Regions from separate parts of the Homo sapiens genome. Here region 1 is linked to region 2. The links are contacts of gene promoters, found by promoter capture Hi-C in human tissues and cell types (Jung and others, 2019). All regions are on one chromosome and are shown on one strand. The core of a region is centred on a gene start or on the middle of the fragment in contact, and the rest is flanking DNA. Distances in the headings are between cores, read along the strand shown. Region 1 overlaps FAM168A (family with sequence similarity 168 member A). Region 2 holds the start of PLEKHB1 (pleckstrin homology domain containing B1).

Evidence for each region. The method cuts DNA at HindIII sites, captures the fragments that hold promoters and counts their contacts. A contact is called where the count stands out against the background at its distance.
Region 1: a contact is called between a fragment that was not itself captured here and the fragment with the promoter of PLEKHB1 in region 2, in 3 of the 25 tissues and cell types used here (IMR-90 fibroblasts, neural progenitor cells and spleen).

What each region holds. Positions count from the first base shown.
Region 1 is chr11:73,579,318-73,584,203 of GRCh38, reverse strand. The region is part of intron 1 of FAM168A (family with sequence similarity 168 member A); the gene reads left to right. It also overlaps the pseudogene HMGN2P38. Among named protein-coding and RNA genes, the nearest start is that of FAM168A, 16 kb to the left of the region's middle. The HindIII fragment of the contact is 9,693 bases long and covers 1-4,886 here.
Region 2 is chr11:73,642,359-73,647,830 of GRCh38, reverse strand. PLEKHB1 (pleckstrin homology domain containing B1) reads right to left here and starts at 1,250. Exons shown (of 8, transcript NM_021200.3): 1 at 1,205-1,250. The coding sequence starts at 1,222. RefSeq lists enhancers at 1-131, 767-1,685 and a silencer at 172-391. The HindIII fragment of the contact is 18,602 bases long and covers 1-5,472 here.

The DNA.
Region 1 (4,886 bases), core at 1,360-3,859, 65 kb after region 2:
GAGACAATGTCTCAAAAAAAAAAAAGTCAGTGAATGTAAAAAACACCCCTTTCTAAATTTTTTCTGACTAGATCAATCATCATTGAGGAGGTACAGTATTTCTCCATAATCCCCTGCCCCAGAAGCAAAGGAGTGTTTTTAAAAATATATTTCTGTGTTTACTTACATTTTGATCAGGCTGTATAATTATGAAGGGAAAAACCAACACCCTTTAAAATGAGCATGCCTGAAAGCCTGCCCTTCAACCAAGTGTCATTGTAGGGACACTGTCTCCTAGATAGGAGTTAGTGTTAAACTCTTGACTTAAAACCTTTGAGATGAGGTCCAGGTTTCCCAATATGGTATCTGAGGTAGTTCAAGATCCTCTCCCCAACTTCTTCACCATTGTCATTTATTGTCTCTCCTCCTGGCTTGTGCGTTTTACCTCCAGTACTCCTGAAGTTTGCATTGTACTATGTCTGCAGTTCTTCAGATGTGCAGTGCCTCTTTTCTCACTGTCTTTGCACGTGCTGTTCTCTTGGCCTAGATATCTCTTTGTTACTCTTAATTGGTCTACTCTGACTTAGCCTTTAAGACTCAGCCTAGGAGATAACCTTTTCCAGAAGGTTTTCCGTGATTTCCTAGGTTGGGATTGGGTACCCCATCTCTGGGTTACTCTGATTGTGGTTATCCATTTATTATTTGTTGGTCTCTTCCACTTGCAGTGGACAGGAGTTGTATCTGATCATCCTTTTATTCTCAGAGCCCATCTTGGGACCTTGTACAGAATAAGCATCAGTAAAGACATGTCAGGTGAATCCATCATTTCAAACTGGCCTATTAACAGCTGTAATTTCCCAATGAGTCAGTTACTCCATGTTGCTCTGGGCTGAGTTTTTTTTGTTTGTTTGTTTTTGTTTTTGAGACAGAGTCTTGCTCTGTCACCCAGGCTGGAGTGCAGTGGCGTGATCTCGGCTCACTGCATCCTCTGCCTCCTGGGTTCAAGTAATTCTCCTGCCTCAGCCTCCCGAGTAGCTGGGATTACAGGTATGCACCACCATGCCCAACTAATTTTTGTATTTTTAGTAAAGACGGGGTTTCACTCTTTTAGCCAGGATGGTCTTGATCTCCTGACCTCGTGATCCGCCTGCCTTGGCCTCCCAAGGTGCTGGGACTATAGGCATGAGCCATTGCACCTGGCCTGGGCTGAGTTTTAATAGAGTGTCTTCTATCATTGTTGTTGCCCCTTGCTCCCTGCCCGTTGTGTTGTCTCTACTCTACTTTAGCCCACTCTCATGTAGCTTTCCTTTACTCTTTGCCCATAGCTGGGTCAGTGGAGCTGTGTACACAGTAGACACAATGAGACTCAGAAAGAACTTGATTTATGACGGATCCCTGGAATCTCACTTGGAATGAATGCAGATCACATTGGTAAATGGAGAAGACGGGACCTTATGATTGCTTTTCTGACTCAGTCTAGAGTTCTTTTTTCTGCTTCAAAGTTTCCTCTTTATTAACCTTTGGTCAGTTTTAATTTGTAGATAATATAAAATGAATGCTATAAAACCAAATTGTATCAAATGCTTGTGTATTTGATTTTTACAACTGAAATATAAGACTTGACTTAACTATTTGATGGTAGAAAGATTGAGACTTTAAGAAATGTGGGTTTTTAATTACCCTATTAAGCCATTAGTAGTTTCTGGCAGGCAATTTTTTTTTTCCCCAGGCTGGAGTGCAATGGCACCATCTCGACTCACTGCAAGCTCCGCCTCCTGGGTTCATGCCAATCTCCTGCCTCAGCCTCCCGAGTAGCTGGGACTACAGGTGTGTGCCTCCACGCCTGGCTAATTTTTTTTGTATTTTTAGTAGAGATGGGGTTTCACTGTGTTAGCCGGGATGGTATCGATCTCCTGACCTCGTGATCCACCCACCTTGGCCTCCCAAAGTGCTGGGATTACAGGCATGAGTCACGGTGCCCGGCCTCTGGCAGGCAATTTTAATTAGGATTCCCCAAAATATTTTGCTGATTAGAGTCTTTGTAGCAAGCAAAAATAATCACTTATGCATCTATGCATTATTTTAGTCAACATGGATATCAGCCTCTATGTTAGGTTGGTTTTGATGATACACGGAGATGAGTAAGGTGTAGTTGCTGTCTTCAAGGAGCTCCAGATGCAATAGAGACAAGGTATAAACAAATAAGTTGGCTGGGTGCGGTGGCTCATGCCTGTAATCCCAGCACTTTGGGAGGCCGAGGTGGGCGGATCACAAGGTCAGGAGTTTGAGACCATCCTGGCCAACGTGGTGAAACCTCGTCTCTACTAAAAATACAAAAATTAGCTGGGCATGGTGGCGCATGCCTGTAGTCCCAGCTACTCAGGAGGCTGAGGCAGGATAATCGCTTGAACCCGGGAGGCAGAGTTTGCAGCGAGGCGAGATTGCGCCACTGCACTCCAGCCTGGGCAATAGAGGGAGACTCCATCTCAAAAAAAAAACAAAAACCAAGTTACAGTTCAATGTTATAGATGTTATAAAATAAGTAGCAGAGACAGGGTATTCAAACCTTTTTTTAGGGAAGAGTTCTTGGAGGAAGAGTAACCTGAGCTTATTTTTGAAAGAAGACTAGGTCTTATGTGTGGACAATTCTGGACATGGAGTCAGAAGAACTGAATTTGAACCCCAGCTTAGCCACTTACTAGCTGTCTGACTTGGACAGGTTGTTTAAGTACTCTGTGAATCTCAGTTTTTTCCCATGTAAAGTGGGGACAGTCATATCTATATCCACCTTTGAAATTCAATACATTTGAAAGAAGCTCATAAATGTGATATACAAGTATTCTGTTTTTTAGCTCATAAATGTGGTATACAAGTATTATATTCTGTTTTTTTCCAAGCCAAACTGTATCCAGCTTTATTAAAGATACTGTCCGTAAACAATCATGGCATTTCAGACAGGACATGTGCAGACAATCGTTAACAGTATACAACAACTTTCAAACTCCCTTCTTTAATGGCCTACCAAAAATCAGAAAGCCACTATAAAACCCAATGAAGTCTTCATCTGATGCTCTGAACAGGGAAAGTTTAGAGTGAGGGTTGACATTTCACATTTAGCATGTTGTTTAACAACTTTTCATAAGCTGACCCTGACTTTCAGGAAGTGAAGTGAAAGTGACAGAATTTACCTGAAGATCCACAATCTAGAAACGGAACCACTGCTCTTTTGACAGGTGCCATCTCAGTGGCATCACTGGAAAGTCCAGATTGCCTGACACACTGGTAACCAATGATTAGGGGTCAGGTCCCAACAGATGTCTGGGTTTAAGGGAGTTAAGTCTAGCTGAAAGGTAGAAAGGGAGAAGAGGACATAAAAACAAATTTGTTTTTCCATACCACAAAGCTTTTGTGCCAAGGTGGCCATGTGTGTCAAAGTCAGGGAATCCCTGCTCCTGGGAGCCAAGAGGAAGTCTCTCAAAACTGGAAGGGAAAGGTGTTTTCCCCACATCAATCCAGCTTTGGAGACATTTTATTAGTGACATAAGCCCCTTCCTCTCAAAACAACAAGGACATGTTCTGTGTGCTAACAACATAGCTTAAAAAAGTAAAACAAAATTCTGCATTTTTATAAAACTTGATTAAAAATAGTATTTCAAACTGTACAGTCACCAGAAGTACATGGTTATTAAAAATGCACACACTTCGCTTGGCATCTCCAGCACCTTCAGCTTTCTGTCCCTGGTCTGTTTTGGCATCTCCATTTTCTGTAGGGTTATCCCCATCCTGGCCAGCCTCAGCTTTTCCCTTTTTCCCTTTGGGTACCTTCTCTCCCTTCTTTGCAGGGGCTTTTTTGGCCTGGGCTCTATCTTTGGAGGAGCAGGTTTAGCAGACAACCTTGTGGATCTTCTCTGTGGTTCATCCTTCACCTTGGCTTTATCTCCTTTAGCATCCCCTTCAGCCTTTCTTGGGCATGGTGGCGGCGACAGTGACGGCAGCGGGACGTAGGCACTGGGCGTGGGATGCAGCGGAGCACAGGCTTTGGTTGGTCTGGGGGTCGTTCTCACCTCTTCTTCTGGTTTTTGTTTTTTACTTATTCATTGACAATTATATTTTGACAGATTGTAGCATCAGTTTTCTTACCCAAACCAGAAATAAGTGAGGAAAATATTGAGTATATTAGTGTGTAGACATCATTTATGAAGTGCTAACACTATAAACATGTATCAAGGCAAATATTTTAAAGTTCAGATCCATGAAACTTTGATTCTGTGCTATTGTACAAGATACTGCTTAAGGTACCTAAATGAATGGTATCTGAAAAATTATTGAGTTTGCTTCTGAGTGGCTTGGATAGCAACCAGCTGAACTAGAAAGAGCCTCATTTCTTGTCAGAAGACTTATGCTTGCATCCAAGTGATGCAACTTATGTCTGTGCTGCTGAAGGTTATTTAACATTTCAGAGTTTCATTTTCTCCATCAGTAAAGGAGAAAAATAATAGTTACTTTGTAGACTGTGAATTAGGAATAAACTGGATAAATTGCTTACCACTAGCTTTTATCAGTTAAAAGTTAATTTATGGAATATTAAACAAATTTCCATTTAATTACATTTCTTTAGAGAAACTTGCTCTAAATGGTGGGTGGGGGGAATTCTGTTATTTATGCTTTACTGACACTGATGATATTTTACCTCCTTCTTCCAGTTATTCCTCAATAATTTTGTAAGGTGAGTTTAAATCTCAGCTATTGTACTTCCTTGCAGTGTGACCTTCAAAGTTACTTAATCTTTCTATAACTTATTTTCTCCATCTATTAGGTGGAGAATTAATGGCATTTATATTATATAGTTACTTAATCTTTCTATAACTTATTTTCTCTATCCATTAGATGGAGACATAATGGTATTT
Region 2 (5,472 bases), core at 1-2,500:
CCGCTCCCTCCCCTCTCCACGGTCTTGACACAGATCAGACAAGAGGGTCAGGTGCAGACTCCTTTTCCAGCCCCTCCCCTTGATGCACCCACCTTGTCTACACTTGTTGCGGATGTTGCTGCCTAAGCGGCCGCTACTCGATGCTGCTGCCACCCAACCCGCTGCGCCTGCGCTTTGTGTGCCCCGGAGAGCCTGGGGCATTTCTCTCCTCCCGCAGCGCCTGAGAGCCCAGCTGCCCCCGGGCCCCGCCCTCCGGACCTGCCCACCCCAGGGAGGGGGAGTGACGTGAAGAGATGCTGACCCGAGGCGTACTGGGACTTGTAGTCTACCCCTGTAGAGCTGGGCAGAAGCAGCCCCGCCTGCAATTTTACTTTTCTATTAAGACATTTGTTCACTCATTTATCATGAAATACTTTTTCTTAAGAATCATTGAACTCAGTTCCTAGAAAAAAAGAAAAAGTAAAGTTGCAAGGAGAAGCCAAGCTCCTAGTTTTGCATGTTTTTTTGATGCTTCCCCTTTCCATCCCCAGCTTCCAGTCTAGTGAGGGAGATTACATGGAAACACACAATTGGAGCACAAGGTGTGATTTAACAATGGAAAAGATGAGCCTGACTTTTCTCAAGGGGTTCAGGAAGGCTTCCCAGAGGAGGCTGAAAGGGGCCTTGGAGGATGAGGGGCAGTTTCCTAGGCGACCCGAAATTTCCCCTATGAATACTGTCAGGATGTTGAAGAGTGCCCAGCATTTCCGTGTGTCTAGAACATAAAGCGCAGGGGTGGGGAGGGCATCGGGAGTGTCAGGCGATAGAGCTGCAGGGTTTGGAAAGAAATAGCACAGAGGCCTTGCATGACAGGCGGAGAGCTTGGATGTTAGGACGCAGTGACTGGAGCTGGGGGTGGGAGTTTCAAGATGAGGAGTGAGGTGTGTGATTAGGGGGTCGGAAAGGCCCCTCTAGGGCACAGTGAAGAATGGACTGGCGGGAGCCCACCTGGAGAAAGGAAGACTTTCTGTATCTATCACCTCGGACTGTGATCATTTCCTTCAATAGCTCAGCCCCGCAAACCCTCACCTACCAGCAGCCACAGGATGTCATTCAGAGACCAGAGGATGTCAGGGCCTAAAAGACTTCTGTCCCGTCCCCTATGTGGCAAGGGTGCCCACCCTGCCCTGGGCCCTTCCTCCTGTCCCAGAGAACTCTTCCTTACCGGGGCTGCAGGGCTCATGGTTCCTGGGTGGCCAGGGCAGCATTTCCCAGAAGGCTCCCGCAGCGGGGCATTTCCCTGAGCGCCTTAGAGATAAGGGGATCAGGAAGGTGCTACCAAGTGGGAGGCTGGAGGGGGAGGCAAGGAGGGAGCGCACAGATCCCAAGGAAGGTCGCCCTCTTTCTCCAGGCTCCTCCCAGCCTTTCCAACTGATGGCTCTGACCCTAGGTTCACTAGACAAGTCATCCCTGATTCAGAAGTGGTCTTGGCTCAGCATCGCCGAGGTTCCCGGAGTGGAATCGGGGCGAGGTTGCGGGGGCAGGACAGGAACCGGGCTGGTCCTCCTCCCTAGGTTGGGGGCGGGGCTACATCTTCATTCTTTGGCCTGGCAGGACAGCGCCCATCACCCCAGTCCTGGCTGCGCAGTCTGGCTCTTTAAGCCTTCCTCTCTTGCTCCTGAGTCTCTGTAATCCTGACCTCGAGCTACCCTCGCTCCTCGGCCCTTTGTGCGGTGCGTGCCCTGCTGAGGGATTCGCCATGGCCAATCCTATTAACCATTGAGTTCATCCCCTCTTAGCCGACTCAAGAACCAGCTCTCCCATACCGCGTTTTCATCTCTGTGCCTTTAACTCACTCTCTGTCTGGTTCCTGGAACGTCCCAGTCCCAGCTTCTCCTAGCTAAATTTTCCACCTCCACAGTGGAAGGAAGAAAGGAAGCAGTGGGAGGGGGAAAGAGGCAAGGAAAGAGATATGGAAGGAAGGAAAGACAGAAGGAGAAAAGAAGGGAGGGGAAAGACGGGAAGGCAGGTAGGTAGGGCTGCAGCTGGCCTCGGAGGATCTGCGCCTGGGTCCTGCCCCGACCCAGCCTCTCTCCAGCTCTCCCTGCTCCCCTCCCCGATGGGCAGTGGGGCATCCTTCATGTTGAGGGGCGGGGACGGTGCAATCATCTCCTAGATTTCATTCTCTGGATTTAGCAACCAGATGAAAAAGGAAGGTTCTCCAGCAGCAGTGGAGACTTCAGGGGAAGACTCTCCCCTACCTCCCAAAGAGCGGGCACTATGACGAAAAAAAGAGGAAAGGACGTGGCAAACTAAAACCACAGACACTACTACCGAATCTAAACGTAGCCGGACTTGGCCCATGTCTCTAAAAGCTGGTCAGTGACCCTCTTTGAGAAGCCAATAAGGAAGTGTAGACTGTCCTCAGGAAAAAATCTGCGTATAATTCCTGGGAGTTCATAGACCTCTGAAGCCATGATAGTCATGGTTGGATTGTTTTTAATTTCCAGAGCTGTGTAGATGGGAGGAGAGTGTAGATTGACGAGTGAGAGGTATGACAGTATGTCAGGAATTCCAGCCGCAGCAGTCCTGGCTGTGAGAGACTTTGTTTGTTCAATCAACTAAAACTTATTGAGACTAATAAGCCAACAAGTAACTTTTACATTTCTTTGTGGCTATGGTGCACAGAACCATTGGCAGAGAGGAAAAGATTTTGCCATTTCAAGTGTCCCTGGTGAATGAACAGCCCACAGATAATACATTGTTTAGGAAATAGTGGACTGGCTCATCAAATTCAAATTTACTACTTACATTTTCTAGAGAGTATAATATAATGAGAATAATTTATATTATCTTTATTTTAAAAAACTTGAAGTTTATATCAAGATGCAATTTGAGCAAAAGTAAAAGTGCTTATGAAAACATTTTAAATGGCCGGGCGCTGTGGCTCATGCCTGTAATCCCAGCACTTTGGGAGGCCAAGGCGGGCAGATCACCTGAGATCGGGAGTTCGAGACCAGCCTGACCAATATGGAGAAACCCCATCTCTACTAAAAATACAAAATTAGCTGGGTGTGGTGGCACATGCCTGTAATCCCAGCTACTAGGGAGGCTGAGGCGGGAGAATTGCTTGAACCGGGAGGCAGAGATTGTGGTGAGCCGAGATTTCACCACTGCACTCCAACCTGGACAACAAGAGCTAAACTCCGTCTCAAAAAAAAAAAAAAAAAAAAAGAAAAGAAAACACTTTAAAGTGATAATTTTACGCTTTTTTTTGTCTTTTTTTTTTTTTCCTTTTTCTGGAGAACGGGGTCTCGCCATATTGCCCAGGCAGGTCTCGAACTCCTGGGCTCAAGCTATCCTCCCGCCTCTTGCCTCCCTGAGAGCGGGATTACAGGCGTGAGCCACTGCGCCCGGCCAAAGTGATAATTTTAGTGAGATGTAATTCACCTACCATAAAATTCACCCTTTTAAAGTAAAAAATTCAGTGGGTATTTTTTTTTTTTTTTTTGATGGAGTCTTGCCCTGTCACCAGGCTGGAGTGCAGTGGTGTGATCTCGGCTCACTGCAACCTCCGCCTCACAGGTTCAAGTGATTCTCCTGCCTCAGCCTCCCGAGTAGCTAGGACTACAAGCGTGCACCACCATGCCCAGCTAATTTTTGTATTTTTAGAGATGGAGTTTCACCATGTTGGCCAGGATGGTCTCGATCTCTTGAGCTCGTGATCTGCCCGCCTCGGCCTCCCAAAGTGCTGGGATTACAGGTGTGAGCCACCGCACCTGGCCTTCAGAACATTTTTATCACCCTAAAAAGAAACCCTAGGCCAGACATGGTAGTTCACGCCTGTAATTCCAGCACTTTGGGAGGCCAAGGGTGGCGGATCACCTGAGGTCAGGAGTTCGAGACCAGCCTGTCCAACATGGTGAGACCCTGTCTCTACTAAAAATGCAAAAATTAGCTGGGCGTGGTGGCGCGCACCTGTAATCCCAGCTACTCAGGAGGCTGAGGCAGGAGAATCACTTGAACCCGAGAAGCAGAGGTTACAGTGAGCCGAGATCACACCATTGCACTCCAGCCTGGCTACAGAGCGAGTCTCCATCTCAAAAAAAAAAAAAAAAAGAAAAGAAAAGAAACCCTATAGTCTTTAGCAGTTACTCCCAATCTGTCTTCCCCCCAAGTCCCTGGCAAAATTAATCTGCTTTCTTTCTGTACAGATTTGCCTATTCTGGCCATTTCATATAAATGGAATCATGGGCCAGGCGCAGTTGGCTCACACCTATAATCCCAGTGATTTGGGAGGTGAAGGCAGGAGGATCTCTTGAGGCCAGGAGTTTGAGGTTATAGTGAGCTGTTACTGCACTGCTGTACTCCAGACTCAGTGACAGAGTGAGACCTTGTTTCTAAATAAATAAATAGTTTTAAAAAATAAATGGAATCATGCAATGTGTGACCCTTTGTGACTGGCTTCTTTCACTTAGCATAATGTTTTCAAAGTTTATCCAGGTTGTAGCATGTTATCAGTATTTCATTCCTTGTTTTTTGTTTTTGTTTTTGTTTTTGTTTTCAGACAAGGTCTTACTCTGTCACCCAGGCTGGAGTGCAATGGTGCGATCTCACTGTAGCCTCAACCTCTCTGGCTCAAGCAATCCTCCCACCTCAGCCTCCCAAGTAGCTGGGACTACAGGCACATGCTATCACACCTGGCTAATTTTTGTATTTTTGGCAGAGACCGAGTCTCGCTATGTTGCCCAGGCTTGTCTCCATCTCCTAGGCTCAAGCAGCCCTCCTTCCTCAGCTTCCCAAACTGCTAGGATTACAGGCCTGAGCCACTGCGCCTGGCCCATTCCTTCTTACTGATGAATAATATTCTATTTTATGGATATATCGTGTTTTATTTATCTATTCATTGGTTGATAGATATTTGGGTGATTTCTACTCTTTAGCTATTATAATACTGCTGTGAACATTTGTGTACACATTTTTGTGTGGACATATATATGCTTTATTTTCTCTTGGGTGTGAAATTTCTGGGTCATGTGGTAACTCTACGTTTAACATTCTGAGGAACTGTCAAATTATTTTCAAAGTGATTGCACCATTTTACACGCCCATCAACAACCTCTAAGAGTTCCGATATTTCTATGTCCTAGCCAACACTTGTTATTGTCTGTCTTAAGTATTCACTCCTTGTGTTTTTTATTTGCATTACCCTAATGACGAATGATGTTGGTTATCTTGTTTTTTTTTTTTTTGAGACGGAGTCTCGCTCTGTTCAGCCCAGGCTGAAGTGCAGTGGTGCGATCTCAGCTCACTGCAAGCTCCGCCTCCTGGGTTCACGCCATTCTCCTGCCTCAGCCTCCTGAGTAGTTGGGACTACAGGCGCCCGCCATCGCGCCCGGCTAATTTTTTGTATTTTTTAATAGAGATGGGGTTTCACCATGTTAGCCAGGATGGTCTCGAACTCCTAACCTTGTGATCCGCCCACCTCGGCCT